Linked DNA regions of Homo sapiens: region 2 is linked to region 1. Evidence: promoter capture Hi-C in 16 types of primary human blood cells and fetal thymus (Javierre and others, 2016). All regions are on one chromosome and are shown on one strand. The core of a region is centred on a gene start or on the middle of the fragment in contact, and the rest is flanking DNA. Distances in the headings are between cores, read along the strand shown. Region 1 holds the start of RASGEF1C (RasGEF domain family member 1C). Region 2 holds the start of TBC1D9B (TBC1 domain family member 9B).

Evidence for each region. The method cuts DNA at HindIII sites, captures the fragments that hold promoters and counts their contacts. A CHiCAGO score of 5 or more calls a contact.
Region 2: a contact is called between the fragment with the promoter of TBC1D9B here and the fragment with the promoter of RASGEF1C in region 1, in 4 of 17 cell types (megakaryocytes, M1 macrophages, M0 macrophages and 1 more). The highest score is 6.7, in megakaryocytes.

Annotation. Positions count from the first base shown.
Region 1 is chr5:180,203,600-180,210,969 of GRCh38, forward strand. It overlaps RASGEF1C (RasGEF domain family member 1C), which reads right to left and starts at 5,612. Exons shown (of 14, transcript NM_175062.4): 1 at 5,429-5,612. RefSeq lists an enhancer at 3,611-4,403 and a silencer at 5,528-5,747. The HindIII fragment of the contact is 1,452 bases long and covers 5,143-6,594 here.
Region 2 is chr5:179,906,537-179,913,581 of GRCh38, forward strand. TBC1D9B (TBC1 domain family member 9B) reads right to left here and starts at 1,361. Exons shown (of 21, transcript NM_015043.4): 1 at 1,168-1,361. The coding sequence starts at 1,285. It also overlaps a transcript of RNF130 not described here. RefSeq lists an enhancer at 315-1,092 and silencers at 973-1,022, 1,073-1,212, 1,223-1,282, 1,353-1,512. The HindIII fragment of the contact is 10,003 bases long and covers 1-3,090 here.

The sequences.
Region 1 (7,370 bases), core at 4,362-6,861:
GATTCACAGAAATGATGAGCTAATAAGCCATGCGTTGCTTTAAGCCACTAGGTCAATGATAACTTAGTACACAGCAATAGATAACTAATACAATGATATTGAAACATACTACAGGCTGGGCGCGGTGGCTCACGCCTGTAATCCCAGCACTTTGGGAAGCCAAGGTGGGAGGATCACTTGAGGCCAGGAGTTCGAGACCAGCCTGGCCAACATGATGAAACCCCATCTCTACCAAAAATATAACTTAACCGGGCATGGTGGTGCACGCCTGTAATCCCAGCCACTTGGGAGGCTGAGGCAGGAGAGTCGCTTGAACCTGGGAGGCAGAGGTTGGAGTGAGCCGAGATCATGCCACTGCACTCTAGCCTGGGCGACAGAGTGAGACTCTGTCTCAAAAAACAAACAAACAAACAACAACAACAACAACAACAAAGTGAAATCTGGGGGAAGACAAAAGTTATACATAGCTTTTTGACTGTGTGGGGGTCAGCATCCCTAACCTTCTCATTGTTCAAGGGCCAACTGTAATTGCTAAACTATATTCCATCGTACGGATATATATCTTGTTTATTTATTCACCAGTTGATGAACAACTGCGTTGTCTCTACTTTTCTGGCCATTATAAGCAATGCTGTTATGAGCATTTGTGTACAAGTCTTTGTGTGGACATTTCATTGTTTTCATTTCTCTTAGATTCCTGGGAGTGGGACTGTTGGGTCATATGGTATTTTTATGTTTAAATTTTAAAGAAACTGCCAAACTATTTTCTACATCATGTCCAAGTGGGACTTATTTCAGAAATGCAAAGATGGCCTAGTGTTAATATTCATACGTTTTGTGTCTGTTTACCTCAGCCTAGTCCCAGACCTGATATTGGGAAATCCATCACATGACTCATTATGCTACTAGTAATCAGGAGAAATATCAGATCATTATCTACATACATGGCTCTAACAAAGGTCAACACCAATCCTGATTTTTAAAACTGCCAATAAAATAGGAGTCAATGGATATTCCTCTATCTATCTATCTATCTATCTATCTATCTATCTATCTATCTCATCTATCTATCTCTTCCCATCCTAAAGTCAGCATCTTTCTTAATAGGGGAAGTATTAGAGGCCTTTTTACTAAGGTCAGGAACAAGGTAAGGAGGCCCACCACATCCAATATTTAATACTGAATTGGAGGTATTCAGCCAATTTAATTAGATAAAAGAAAGCATAAAAATCAGTAGAGAAGCAGTAAAGCTATTTGAATTTGTAGATGACAGAATGACTAACAGAATCAAAGATATGACTAACAACAGGCCGGTAATGGTGGCTCATGCCTGTAATCCCAGCACTTTGGGAGGCTGAGATGGCAGATCATCTGAAGTCAGGAGTTCGAGATCAGCCTGGCCAAGATGGCAAAACCCCGTCTCTACTAAAAATACAAAAATTAGCCTGACGTGGTGGCAGGCACCTGTAATCTTAGCTACCTGGGAAGCTAAGGCACGAGAATCACTTGAACCTGGAAGGTGGAGGTTGTGGTGAGCAGAGATCACGCTACTGCATTCCAGCCTGGGTGACAGAGCGAGACTCCGTCTCAAAATAAATAAATAAATAAATAAAAACAAAAAAAAAGACTAACAATAAAACTAACAATAAAAATTCAGGTAAGACAGAAAGATATAAAATAACATACACGAAACAGTAGCCAATTCAAAGATATAATTGAAGAAAAAACCATTTATAGTAGCAACACACAAGATAAAAATACTCATGAATAAACTTCATAAGAAATAGGAAAAACATATATGAGGAAAATTTCAAAACACTCCTAGAAGTAGTCTTGACAAACAGAAAGACATCTCTCAGTTTTGGATAAGATAACTCAACTTCATAAAGATGCCAATTATCCTAAAGTTAATATACAAGCCTAATATAAACTTAATACGCTCTCCTTCCCCGCCCGAACAGCAGCAACGTGCTGCAACAGCCAGGAAATCCTTGCAGTAAAAAGCGATGGAAGGAACTTGCCCACCACATGTTAAAACACAACAAGGAGAGTTGAGCCCAATCTCTCTCCTCTATTGCAATGGTCTTGAATAAAGTCCTCTTTGCCATTATTATAATATTATTATTATTATTATTATTATTATTTTGAGACAGAGTCTCACTCTGTTGCCCAGGCTGGAGTGCAGGGGTACAATCTCAGCTCAGCTCACTGCAAAATCTGCCTCCCAGGTTCAGGCGATTCTCATGCCTCAGCCTCCCAAGTAGCTGGGATTACAGGCATGTGCCACCATTCCCGGGTAATTTTTTATATATTTTGGTAGAGACAAGGTTTCACCATGTTGGCCAGGCTGGTTTCAAACTCCTGACCTCAAGTGATCTGCCTGCCTCAGCCTTCCCAAGTGCTGGGATTACAGGCGTGAGCCACTGTGCCAGGCCCTCCTTGCCTTTAAATATATTTTTTCTCTCTCTCTCTCTTTCACCAGTATGTGAACAGATGGAACAGACAGACCTGTGAGACACACTAGAAAGCCCAGAAACAGGCCCAGGGCTTGGATTTTTAGTGTATGAGAAAGGTGCATTTCAGATCACTGGAGGAAAGATGACCTTTTAAATAAATGGCTTTGGGACAGAGTGCCAGACACTTAGAAAAAGATTAAATTGGATGCAGAGACTAAGTACACAACTAAACAAATATTAGAAAACACAGATGATTGCTTTATAATTGGGCTTTTCATAGTTAGAAAAGTCTAAGTATGATTCCAAATCTATGTGAAAAGATGTCCAATTTCATTTATAATAATAGAAATATAAATTTAAAATACACTGAAATACTGTTTCTCAGCTCTCAAACCAGCGAGGCTGTGGGGAAACAGAAGACACTGTGATACATCGGTGGTGGGAATGCAAAACGGTGCTACCTCTTGACAAGGAATTTGGGACTAGCTAACAAAATAAATCCACATTCACTCCTACTTCTAGAAGTGTGTTCTAAATATACACCTTTGCAAACATTAACAATATAGGTGCAAAGTTATCCATTACTCCATTATTTTAAATTTAAAAAGACTTGGAAAAAAACAAAATTGTTCATCCAGAGGACATAATTTGAATAAACAATAATAGTACAGCCACAGAACGAAATACTATGTGAGTGTAAAAAAGAATGAGCCAGGTCTCCATGAACTGGTAAGAAGTTACTTTCAGGACATACTTCTAACTGAAGAAAAACCAGGAGCTGTACGGCTAACTTTTGTGATAATGCTTAAATGACTTGTTTTGCAGAAAGAGACACAGGAAGGATAAACCAGAAAATATTTTAAATGGCTCCCAATGGTGTGGGAACAAGGAAGAAGATGCAGGGGTGGGACTGAGACCTTTAAGGATAGCTTTTTAATAGTTCTGACCTTTAAACCATGTGTTTTACGTATTCAAAAAATAAAATTACATCCTAAAGTCTAAAGGAAAAAAAGCTCCAAATTGAATGCAAGTAGAAACACACGAAGCTAACAGTGTGTCCGACTGATAACGTCACCACACAGCACTCTGCCTGCACACCCGTGGAAATCCCGATGCTGACCTAGCAGGTTTTGGTTGGCTTCGGTGTGGATGCAGTCATTCTGAAACTCTTTCGGGGTGCATTGTGGAGCTAAGTAAATGATGAAATATATTCATGTTTGGGGGAATAAGGTTCTCACTGCAGGAGAAAGGGAAAGGAAATATTAATTTTTAGTAAAAAAGGGGCCTTGGCTTGGTCCACTGACAAGGCCTAGAGGCGGCGAGTGCACGCCCCACACTAAGCCCGGGTCCCACGCAAGGAACCAAGGCCCCTTGGACAAATGGCTGACTCTGGATCTGGGTCCAGGTACAAGTGAGAGCTGGAACCACCTCAGAGACTGGCGGGGACATGGCAGGAGGGTGCAGACCCCGGCCTGAAAAGGGCCAGGTCCCGGGCAGGGCCCCACCTCTACCTGGTGGCCTGCGGGCTCCCCCTCGCCAGTCCCGCCCTGGGCTCCGCAGCCCGTCCCTCTCTCGCCTGCCCTCCCTCTCCTGCCCCGGCAGTGCGCCCACCCGCCGCCACGGGCAGCCTTTCGACGCCCAACCTGCAAACCGCCTGGGGGCTGCCCAGGACGTCCAGACCCTGTAGCGTCTCAGCTCCAGCTCCGCCCCCTCCTGCCCTCAGGGATCTCACCCGCGCTGTTCCCCCGGGCTACCCGTCCATCACAGGCTGGGCTCCCCGCTCAGGACAGCCTCCCTGACCAGACGAAGGCTCCGCCGCGCCCTGGTCTCCCTCTGCCCCAGTCACCCTACTGCATGTTCTTCCCAGCACGCATAAGATCTTGGCCATGTCCTTGCTTTTGCCTTTGATTTCTTGTTTGGTGTCCCCTCCCACACCAGCTAGTGAGCACTTACGGGGGCAGGCAGCAGGCGGCACACAGTAGGCGCTCAATGAATGTGGCCAGTGAGTGGACAACCCTAGCCCCCCTCCACCGGTCGCCTGCACAGTGGCTGCACTATGGCTGTTGGAGCCAGTCTTACCAGAGGTGGGACCCCAGCGTTGCCACTCCATGGTCCCGCCCCTCTCTAAACCTCAGTTACTCCACCTGCCTGGCAGGCAGAGCTTCCCAGGACTCTTCTCAGGCTCCCGGGGCTCAGAACTTCTGTCTCTCCCACAGCCCCAGGAGGCAGGAGATACGGGCCCGGAAGAGCTCCACCAGCACCCCAACTTCCCAGCTCTGTCTTTCCCACAGTTTCCCACGCCCACGCTGAGCATGGGGCGGCGTCGCCAGCACCCTTCCCCAAGTCCCCCCAAGCATCGCTTTCCCAATCTAAATACAATGAGTGGACCAGGTGGTCCCTTGATGCCGTCCGCTGTCACTGCGTGAGGGACACACCCAGGACTCCCAGCAGACCCCACTGTTCTCGCAGGCCCTCTGATAGTGGCGCTGGTCCTTTCCTCAAATCCGATCCCATCCTCAAGGGTGACAGCACCCTCTTCCCCCAGGCGCAAGGCCCTTTCCCTTCTGCACGTGCACCGGCAGGTCTGCTTTCCCGTCCCCATTTCATAGACGGGGAAACTGAGGTCCGGTGCGGGTGGAGGCTTTGGTCTAGGCTGGCTCTTCCTGCCACTCTAGCGGCTGAAAGAAGCTTGCTCCTCGCGCCCAGCAGGGGCTGGCGGCGCGCGGCAGAGCTGGGTCTCCCGCCAGGTGGCCGGGGGTGTGCCCTCAGGGTACCCTACCCGCTACCCCCGCGCCTCCAGTCCCGGCGGCCGCGCGGACCCCGCCCCTGCTGACCCCGGCGCACGCTCCCGCGCCGCGCGCAGCCTCCCGCCTCCCGCCGACCCCGCCGCGCCGCCGGCAGCCCTCCCCAGCCCCCGCGAGCCCGCGCCCTTGCCCGCACCGCCAGGTGTCCCTCGGCCGCGCACCACTCACCGGCTCCCGGCGCGCCGGAACTCCGGGCCCGGCCCATGGGCAGCTCCCGGTGCGAGCCTCGGCGCCGCGGACCGGGGCGCCGCCCGCCGCCGCCGCCGCCGCCGCCGCCGCCGCCGCCGCCGCCCGACCGCCCGGCTCCCAGCGCAGCCCGCACGAGCGCCTGGCGGCGGCCCCGGAGCAACGCGGCGCTGCGCCCCCTCGTGGCACTCAGGCAGCGCGGAGCGGGCGGGGCGCGGGGGTGGAGCTGCGGGAGCCCGCGGGCGGCGCTGCACACCAGGGCCCTCCGTGCCCCGGCCGCGGAGCCAAGCGTCCCGCCCTGCGTTCAGGCCTCCGCGGCGGCTGGCCCCCCGCGCCAGGACCACCCGCTCGGGCCGTCAGACGCTGCCCTCCCGCGCGCGGACCCTGGCGGACTCTGCGCCCCAGCTGCCCCAGCCTACACCTCACCTGGTGGGCCTCTGGCGCCCCAAAACCCAGTTCACCCTCTCTCCTCAAGACTGGGCCCGGCCCGGTTCTCTGGACTGGCCACCTAGGTTGTCTGTGTCCCCCAATGGGACATCCCTGGGTGGACACCCCCCCTCCCCAACCTTCTCGGCGCTCTCCCGTGGCCCCCAGGGAGGGTGGACACCACTTTGAAGACACCGGGGTTCTGGGAGGATGGCGATGCATGATTTCACTTTTAGAAAGGGAGAGGGGCTCTAACAGGATCCAGTGGCCTCCTTGAACTGGGTCTTCAGTGAAAAGTTCCCTGGTTGGTCCCAGCATAGAGGTCAGGACACCTGTCCTCCTGTGTCCGCAGTTTGTCCCTTCCGCTGGGTTCCTGGTCTGGCTGACTTCAAGAATGAGCCAGGGACCTTGGCAGTGAGTGTTACAGCTCTTAAAGGTGGTGCGACGGTGAAACCCTGTCTGTACTAAAAATACAAAAAAATTAGCCAGGTTTGGTGGTGGGCGCTTGTGGTCCCAGCTATTCGGGAGGCTGAGGCAGGAGAAGGGCGTGAACCCGGGGAGGTGGAGCTTGCAGTGAGCAGAGATTGCACCACTGCACTGTAGCCTGGGCGACAGAGCAAGACTCCATCTCAAAAAAAAAAAAAAAGAAAAGAAAAGAAAAAGGTGGTGCAGACCCAAAGAGTGCGTAGCAGCAAAATGTCTTGTGAAGAGCAAGAGAACAAAGCTTCCACAGCAGGGAAAAAGACCACAGCCGGTCGCCGCTGTTGCTGGCTGGCGAGGGGTGGGCGGGCAGCTTTTATTCCCTTATTTGTCCCCACCCATGTCCTGCTGATTGGTCCGTTTCACGGAGTGCTGATTGGTGCGTTTTTACAGAGTGCTGATTGGTGCATTTACAATCCTCTAGCTAGCCAGAAAAGTTCTCCAAGTCCCCACCCGACACGGAAGTTCCAGCTGCCTTCACCTCACTCTGCTTTAGTCAGGACCTGCCTGATGAGATGTGGCCCAAAACTCAACCCAACCAGCTTGAGCAAAAAGCTGGTTTGTGGATCATAAAAAGCCAAGGTTTACTGCTTAGAGGAATGGCTAGATCCAGGTACTTAACCTATGTGCATAGAAACTGGCCTCCCCTATCTCCCAGTCTTTCTGTGGCAGAATGGCCCTGGGTTGACACCTCAGAGAGGGCACAGCTGCCTGATAGTTGCAAGGACAGCCTGCGGCTGCCACACACAGGCTCCGAGGAGCTGAGCTCAGGCCATTTCCAAAGACCTAGGGAGCAGGAATAGCAGGCCTGGGTGTCGTCTCACTAGAGCTGAGGCAGAGTTAGTCCTGTGTCAGCTTTGAGGATGGAGTAAGGTGCTGTTCCAAGCTTCCGTGAAGGCTGTTCCTGGAAGAATGGACAGGTTAAGAACAACAGTCCAGCCCATTTCTTGAACAGTTAGGGAAACTGAGTCCTGGAGAGAGCAGGCAGCTGCCTAGGGCATACAGATGTATTAGAATG
Region 2 (7,045 bases), core at 111-2,610, 300 kb before region 1:
GGTGCCGGTCCCTCGCTTTCTTCATCGGGCTTGCAGTAGCTTCGAGGTTAGCCACAGGGGCTGCCGACTGAACAGCTGGATCTAGGAGGCGGGTCCAGAACAGGAGCCCGAGATCCTTGAAGCCCACTGGGAGGGAACCCGAAGCTGAAGGGAACACTGAGTGTTTCTGGGAACAGAACAGTCTCTTCCACATGAAGAAACGTGGCCCAGGAGAAGCCTCCGTCTGCATCTGGCTATTAGCTGCTCACACTGAAAATCAGGATGATTCACAGAAAATGCTCTTGATAAACTGGACGACCTGGCAACACTGGGACCGCAATCCTGTAGGGCAACAGTCGGTGCCCCGAAGAGCACAGGCACTGAGCCCGAGCCAGCCGGGCTCCTGCAGTGCTGGGCGCAGGCCCTGGAGCATGAGGGGCCCCGGACACCACCTGCGGAGGGAGTGGCCTGTGGGCCTCCCCTGGATCCCACAGGCCGCACGACTCCAAGGGTGCCTGTCCAGCTTCATCCTGTGTGATGGTGGCACCCGGGCCCACAAAGGGCCACCTTGGCGAGCTTGCAGGAACACCCTGTGCCGCTACCCACAGCCTTGGGTGCGCAGCTCTGAGAGCAGCCAGGAGCAGGAAAGGTGGGGGAGGAGAAGCTGGGGGAATGGGGGTGCGGCCAGCTCCAGGGACCTCTGATCTTGCTAAAAGGGCGATACTTTGGTGAGATGGGCACGAAGAAGAGGGCAAAAGAAAACGTGCGCTGGCGTCACCTGGCCCCTTAGAGGCACCTGGGGAAACTGAGGTGGAGGATGAGGACAGGGCGGTCTCGCCAACTTTCGGCGGTGAGATCCCGGGAAGCTGCACGGCCCCCGGGGCTCGCGGGCGCCGAATCCGGGCAGAAGCCGCCGCCGGTCTCCACTTGGCCGCCCCAAGCCGACCTGAGGAGAGCCCGCCGAGGGCGCATTCGCCTCCCGCCAGCCCCTCGCCTCCCCGCCCCGGCCCCTCCGCGCCCGGCTCCCGGGTCCTGGCCTCGCGCCCCCGCCCCGCCGCGCGCTGGCGTGCGTGTCCGCCGCGACGCGCCGAGGCCGGGCCGGAACCGGACCCGCCCGCCGCCCGCCGCCAGCCCCGCCGCCAGCCCAGCCGCGGCGCCCACAGGCCCGGCCGCCCGCGCGCCTCTCACCCGTAAGGCCGCCGCCCCTGCCGTGGCCCCGGCGTCGCTGCAGCACGAAGAAGGGGTTGGCCCGCTCCGTCACCCACAGCGCATTGGCCACCAGCACCTCCTCCGGGCTCAGCCACATCGCGGAGCCGCTCGCACCGGGCCGAGGCCCGCGAGACGGAAGCGCCCGCCGCCGTCGGCGTCCCGGAGCGGAGCGTGCGGAGCGGAGCGTGCGGAGCGGGCCGGGGCGGGGCGGGGCCGGGCGGGCGGCGCCCCCTGGCGGGCGTGTGGCGCTCCCGCACGCGGCCCGAGTTCCGCGCCGCCCCCTCAGCCCCGGCCTCGGGCGCGCGCCAGCCTGGCCTCCTGGAGCGGTGCAGCCCACGGCCTCCGGCCTGGGTCCAGAACGGAACGGCCCAGTCCGCAGACAGGGGAGCCGCTGTGCAGAGCAGGGCTTCTGGCGTTTTGAAAGCTGTGCAGTGTGAGAGAAGGATGTCAAGAAGCAGAGTTTGGCGGCTTTTGGCTGGTTGCGCGTGCAACCCGGGGCGTGTTAGCACTGCAAAGGGCGCCTGGAAAGGGTTTGCAGTTCCTCCTAATTCTCAGCTTTCTTTTCTTTTTTTTTTTTCGACAGAGTCTTGCTGTGTCGCCCAGGCTGGAGTGCAGTGGCGCAATCTCAGCTCACTGCAACCTCTGCCTCCCGGGTTCAAGTGATTCTCCTGCCCCAGCCTCTTTAGCTGGGATTACAGGCTCCCGCCAACACGCCCGGCTAATTTTTTTGTATTTTTAGTAGAGACGGGGTTTCACCATGTTGGCCAGGCTGGTCTCGAACTCCTGACCTCGGGTGATCCGCCTACATTGGCCTCCCAAGTCCTGGGATTACAGGAGTGAACCATCGCGCCCGGCCAGTTCTCAGAATTCTGACACTGGGGCCGGGAGACTAGAAGAATCTTCCAGCGCAGGGCAGGTGCCAGGAGGCCCTGATACGGGCTGCATCCTTGGAAATCAGTGCTGCCCCTCCCCTGACAGACGGGTCACAGAGGCTGGCCGGCCCTGGGGATGGGGTCTGGACTGGCCCTGGGCCCAGTGGCGGCTTCTGCGCAAGTGTGAGGCTGGCTGCAGGCGAATGCGGGTCCCTGGTCTCCCAGTGTTGGCCTGCAGGGGCAGCGCCAGTCCACACACAGCCTTCTGCATGAGGGGGCTGTCAACTCCACCTGGGACAACGGGCCTGGGGCCTGTCCGGGGTCGACTGGGATGTGGGGTCACCCTGCTGGCTGGAACCCTCACCAGGGTCTGGCTAGAGGGCAAAGGGAAGGGGGCAGTTAAACCATCCTTGGAGCTGGACCTGACTTCCAGGTGGGTTTCTGTGATTGGCACTCAAGAATCTTGGTGCGATGGATGTAGGTACATGCAGTTGACACCCAGAGTGATCTGCAGTCTTCTTCAATGTTGCTGGATATAGGAATCAGCTTTCAAGATGCAGAGGCGGGCTTTCTTCAACACCTTGGAAGTCTGAACTAATATTGTCATTGTGCTCTCTAGAGGGAAAGAATTTGGAAGAACTGCACTTTTTAACACCCTGAGAGGAGGTAAAGAGTCGTCTTGTTCCTTAATCCCAGTGGTTCTCAAATTGGGTATACATTAGGATCACCTGGAAGGCTGATTCAAACAGGCTGCTGTAGTCCCAGCCACTTGGGAGGCTGAGGTGGTAGGATCACTTGAGGCCAGGAGTTCAAAATCGGCCAGGGCAATATAGCAAGACTCCATCTGAAAACAAAACAAAACAAAAAACAGCCACACAGGTTGCTGCCCCCTCCCTCCCAGGGTGTTTGCACTGCTAACTCGTTCCTAGGTGATGTTGATGCTGCTGACCTGGAGACCACTCCTCGAGAATGGTTTTTTATAAGAAGAAAAAGAACAAACATTTATCGATCACTTAGTATGTGCGTGCTAAGCTTACTTCTTTTTGATTTTCTGAGATATAAGTCACATTCCGTAACGTTCACTCTTTTAAAGTGCAAAACGTAGTGGTTTTTAGTATATTCACTAGGCTGGGCATCCATCATCACTAATTCCAGAACATTTTTATCAAGTCAAAAGAAACCCCTTACCCATTAGCTGCCATTCCCCACTTCCCCCCGGCTTTGCCCTGGCAACCATCAATCTATTTTGTCTCTATACATTTTTCCCATTCTAGCCATTTCTTCATATAAATGGAACCTTACAATATGTGGTCTTTTGTGTCTGTCTTCTTTCACTTCCCATCATGTGTTCGAGGTTCACCCACGTTGTAGCACGTATTGATGCTTCATTCCTCCTTATGGCTGAATAGTACCCCACGGTATGGATGCACCGCATTTTATTCATTTGGATGGACATTTGGATTGTTTACCCCTCGTCTATTATAAATAATGCTGCCATGAACATGTGTACAAGTCTTTGTGTGAATATGTGTTTTTAATTCTCTTGGGCATATATTGAGGAGTGGTATTGTTGGGTCATGTGGTACAGCTATGTTTAACTTTTTAAGCAGTGACCACACTGCGCTCCAAAGCAGCTGTAGCATTCCACATGCCCACCAGCTGGGTGTAAGAGTTCTAGGCAGGGCGCGGCGGCTCACGCCTGTAACCCCAGCACTTTGGGAGGCCGAGGTGGGCAGATCACAAGGTTAGGAGATCAAGACCATCCTGGCTAACACGGTGAAACCCCGTCTCTACTAAAAATACAAAAATTAGCCGGACGTGGTGGCATATGCTTGTCCCAGCTACTCGGGAGGCTGAGGCAGGAGAATTGCTTGAACCCGGGAGGTGGAGGTTGCAGTGAGCCGAGATCACGCCACTGCAACTTCAGCCTGGGCAGCAGAGTGAGACTCCGTCTCAAAAAAAAAAAAAAAAAAAAGAGTTCTAGTTTTTCCATATCTTGTCAACACTTGTTATTGTCTTTCTTTTTTTTTGATGCTCATTTCTAGAGGGTGGGAAATGGTATCTCGCTGTGGTTTGGATTTCCATTTCCCTGATGACTGATGATGGGCTTTTGGGTTATTTGTATATTTTATCTGGAGAAATGTCTATTTGGAGAAATGTCCTTTGCCCATTTAAAAAATTTTTTTATTTTTTTATTTTTGAGACGGAGTCTCACTCTGTCGCCCAGGCTGGAGTGCAGTGGCATGATCCTGGCTCACTGCAGCCTCTGCCTCCCAAGTTCAAGCGATTCTCCTGCCTCAGCCTCCCAAGTAGCTGGGAGTACAGGTGCGTGCCACCATGCCTGGCTAATTTTAGTATTTTTAGTAGAGAGGAGGTTTCACCATGTTAGCCAGGATGGTCTCGAAATCCTGACCTCAAGTGATCTGCCCGCCTCGGCCTCCCAAAGTGCTGGGATTACAGGCGTGAGCCACTGCACCCGGCCTCTGGCTCCAGTGCTTTTCCACACGTGTCAGACACGTGCTGCCTTTGCCCCCAGCATTCACTTCTCCCGTCTGTGCAGTGTCGTTTGTTTTTCTGCAGTGGGAACCGTGCCTTAGAACGCTCAGCTCTTGTCTGTCAGGTGAAGACACATGGACTCCTGGGCTGTGAAGGTGGAGCCCATGCCAGCTGAGGCCATCGGTGCATTCTATCTGTGATCACAGGGGCTGGCTGGTGATGGCCATGTGCCTCCAACCAAGTCAGTTGGGCCAGGGAAATACCGTCCTGACCTGGGCCACCTCCTGGGGACTGGCTCTTGTGTTGATGGAGCTACTGCCACCCTGAGCCTGGGGATGGGGTTCCCAATGAGGAGCAAAGTTGGCATGTGTCTTGGTGTCAGCATTTGAGGGTGAAATCACACCAAGCCTGACATAGGCACCCCTGGGCATTTTGGCTTTTGGGAGCCATGACATTCCCCTTTTGTGTTAGCCAGTTTTGGCTGGGTTTTCTGTCATTTGTAACCAAGAGAGTCCTCAGTGATACACGTCACCACCAACAATACTCCATGTGGTCAAATCAGCTTTTTCAATAGGTTTTTATTGAAATGGTTATATTAGCAAATTCTGCACATACGGGTGTACACTGTTGGCATATAGGTATATACCATACAATTTCACTACTTGATTATACTTACACCAACCATGCAGACCAAGGAGCTGTGCTGCCCAGAACATTTCAAAGGGTTGATGAGATCTGATTGTCAAGAACCAGCTCACACTCTACTTGTAGGTGTTTGTGTTCCAGACAAGAAAACTCCCCCGACAGGGAGGCCCGAAACTGAGCTAATCGTCAGTTTTGCTTCTTGAATATTGACTGTTCTTTCTGGCACAAGCTATCCAATGAATTAAATTAAAATTTTAATTAAAATTCAAGTGCATAGTTTCCTTTTCATCCCTCAAGGTGGAAGATAAATCATTTGCCACATTTAGGTATATCCCAAGCCTCCCCACCCCCACATTACCTGTGCTATAGTTAGAAAAATAGTTTTGTACGCCATCTTCTGAGATGTTGTGCATAGTGAGCAGGAACCTAGAGTACGGTGGGCTCTTTCAATGACCCAAATATGAAAGGGGCAACTTTAATATTTTATGAGTATAAAAGCTACGGAGGGTCCAAAACAACTGTGACATATGTGGCCTAGGGCTTGCACCAGCTCCTCCTCCTGTACAGGAACAGGATGCTTCCATCAGGTGAGAATGTTCTCCATACCTCAAATCTCATTTCCTAGCTTGGAGCCTTTTCCTGTTTTTGTAATCACACGGGACAAGTTTTCTTTTTAGACAGAGTTATTGCCTCTCTGCAGCAGATCTGGTCCCAAGCCCCAGTCAGGAGATCCCCTCCTGCAGCTGGCTCAGCAAGCCAGGCCCAGGCTGTCTGGAGAACGCCTGGAGACAGCACCCTCTCTGCTTCTCTCCAGGATGGCATGTGTCATCTCAGGCTGGGCACTCAGCAGAGGTGCCAGGACCTGGACCTGGGCCACACCTACTGGCCCAGTCCACAGAGCACAGCCAGCAATCCGCAGCCTTTCTGCTGAAGGAGCGCTTACTCGCCTGAAGGAAGAGAAATGGCCAGGACGGTATATTCTACCTAACCACCTCACCCCACCGTTTCTTTACAAACATCTTGGTTCAGTACCTCCCAGTCATTGGAGAAGTCCTTTAATATCACATAGTGTAAATATACTTGCACTTAATTGGAGATAAAGGCTGTTCCAAAAGCAAATTTGAATTCACTCTGTGTTGGGTTGAATTTGTAAACCACAGCTCAGAACCAGTCTGTGACGCTCCGCAGATGTCGGTGGCTATAGAGAGAGGTGGCTAGGGAAGGCGATGATCCGCGGATGGGTGGGGAACTGAGGAGGCCAAGTCAGCTTTGCCAGGCCACCATGTGCCGCCAGGAGCTGGGCAGCCTGAGGAGAGCAAAGATGGGCCGGGAGCCTCCACCTCAACTGACAGGAGACTGCTCACCACATGCCCTCCGAGTTCCCACAGGAGAATGCACGTGCGCTGGGCAAGGTGCCACCCTCGGCTCGGGACGGCAGCCTTGGCGTCTGGCTACGGGCGCCGCTTTCACAGGGGTGGCTGGGCCGCCTAGAGCTTTTGTGGTACAGAGAGGAGGGGCCAACAGGAGGAACTCCACAGCCCAGGCGGAGGTCTGAGCAGGCCAGCAGCACCGAATCCTTCTGAAAGCTTGAAACTCAAGTTGCAGGACGTTCAAAGGTGCTTTTTTTTTTTTCTTTTCCATAAAGGATCTTCCTTCTTCCCCAAGTTAGAGTGAAGAAAACAGGAAAAAAATACCTTCAGCTTAGGGTGGAAAAGGAAGGAAAACCCAAGATGAGTGCAGGTGACGACCGGGCGGCCCCCACAGGGTCTCTGCAGGACCACAGGAGCCAAGACTCAGGCATAAGAGCATCACCCTTTCAGCAGCCAAGGCGGGTGGCACCTTCC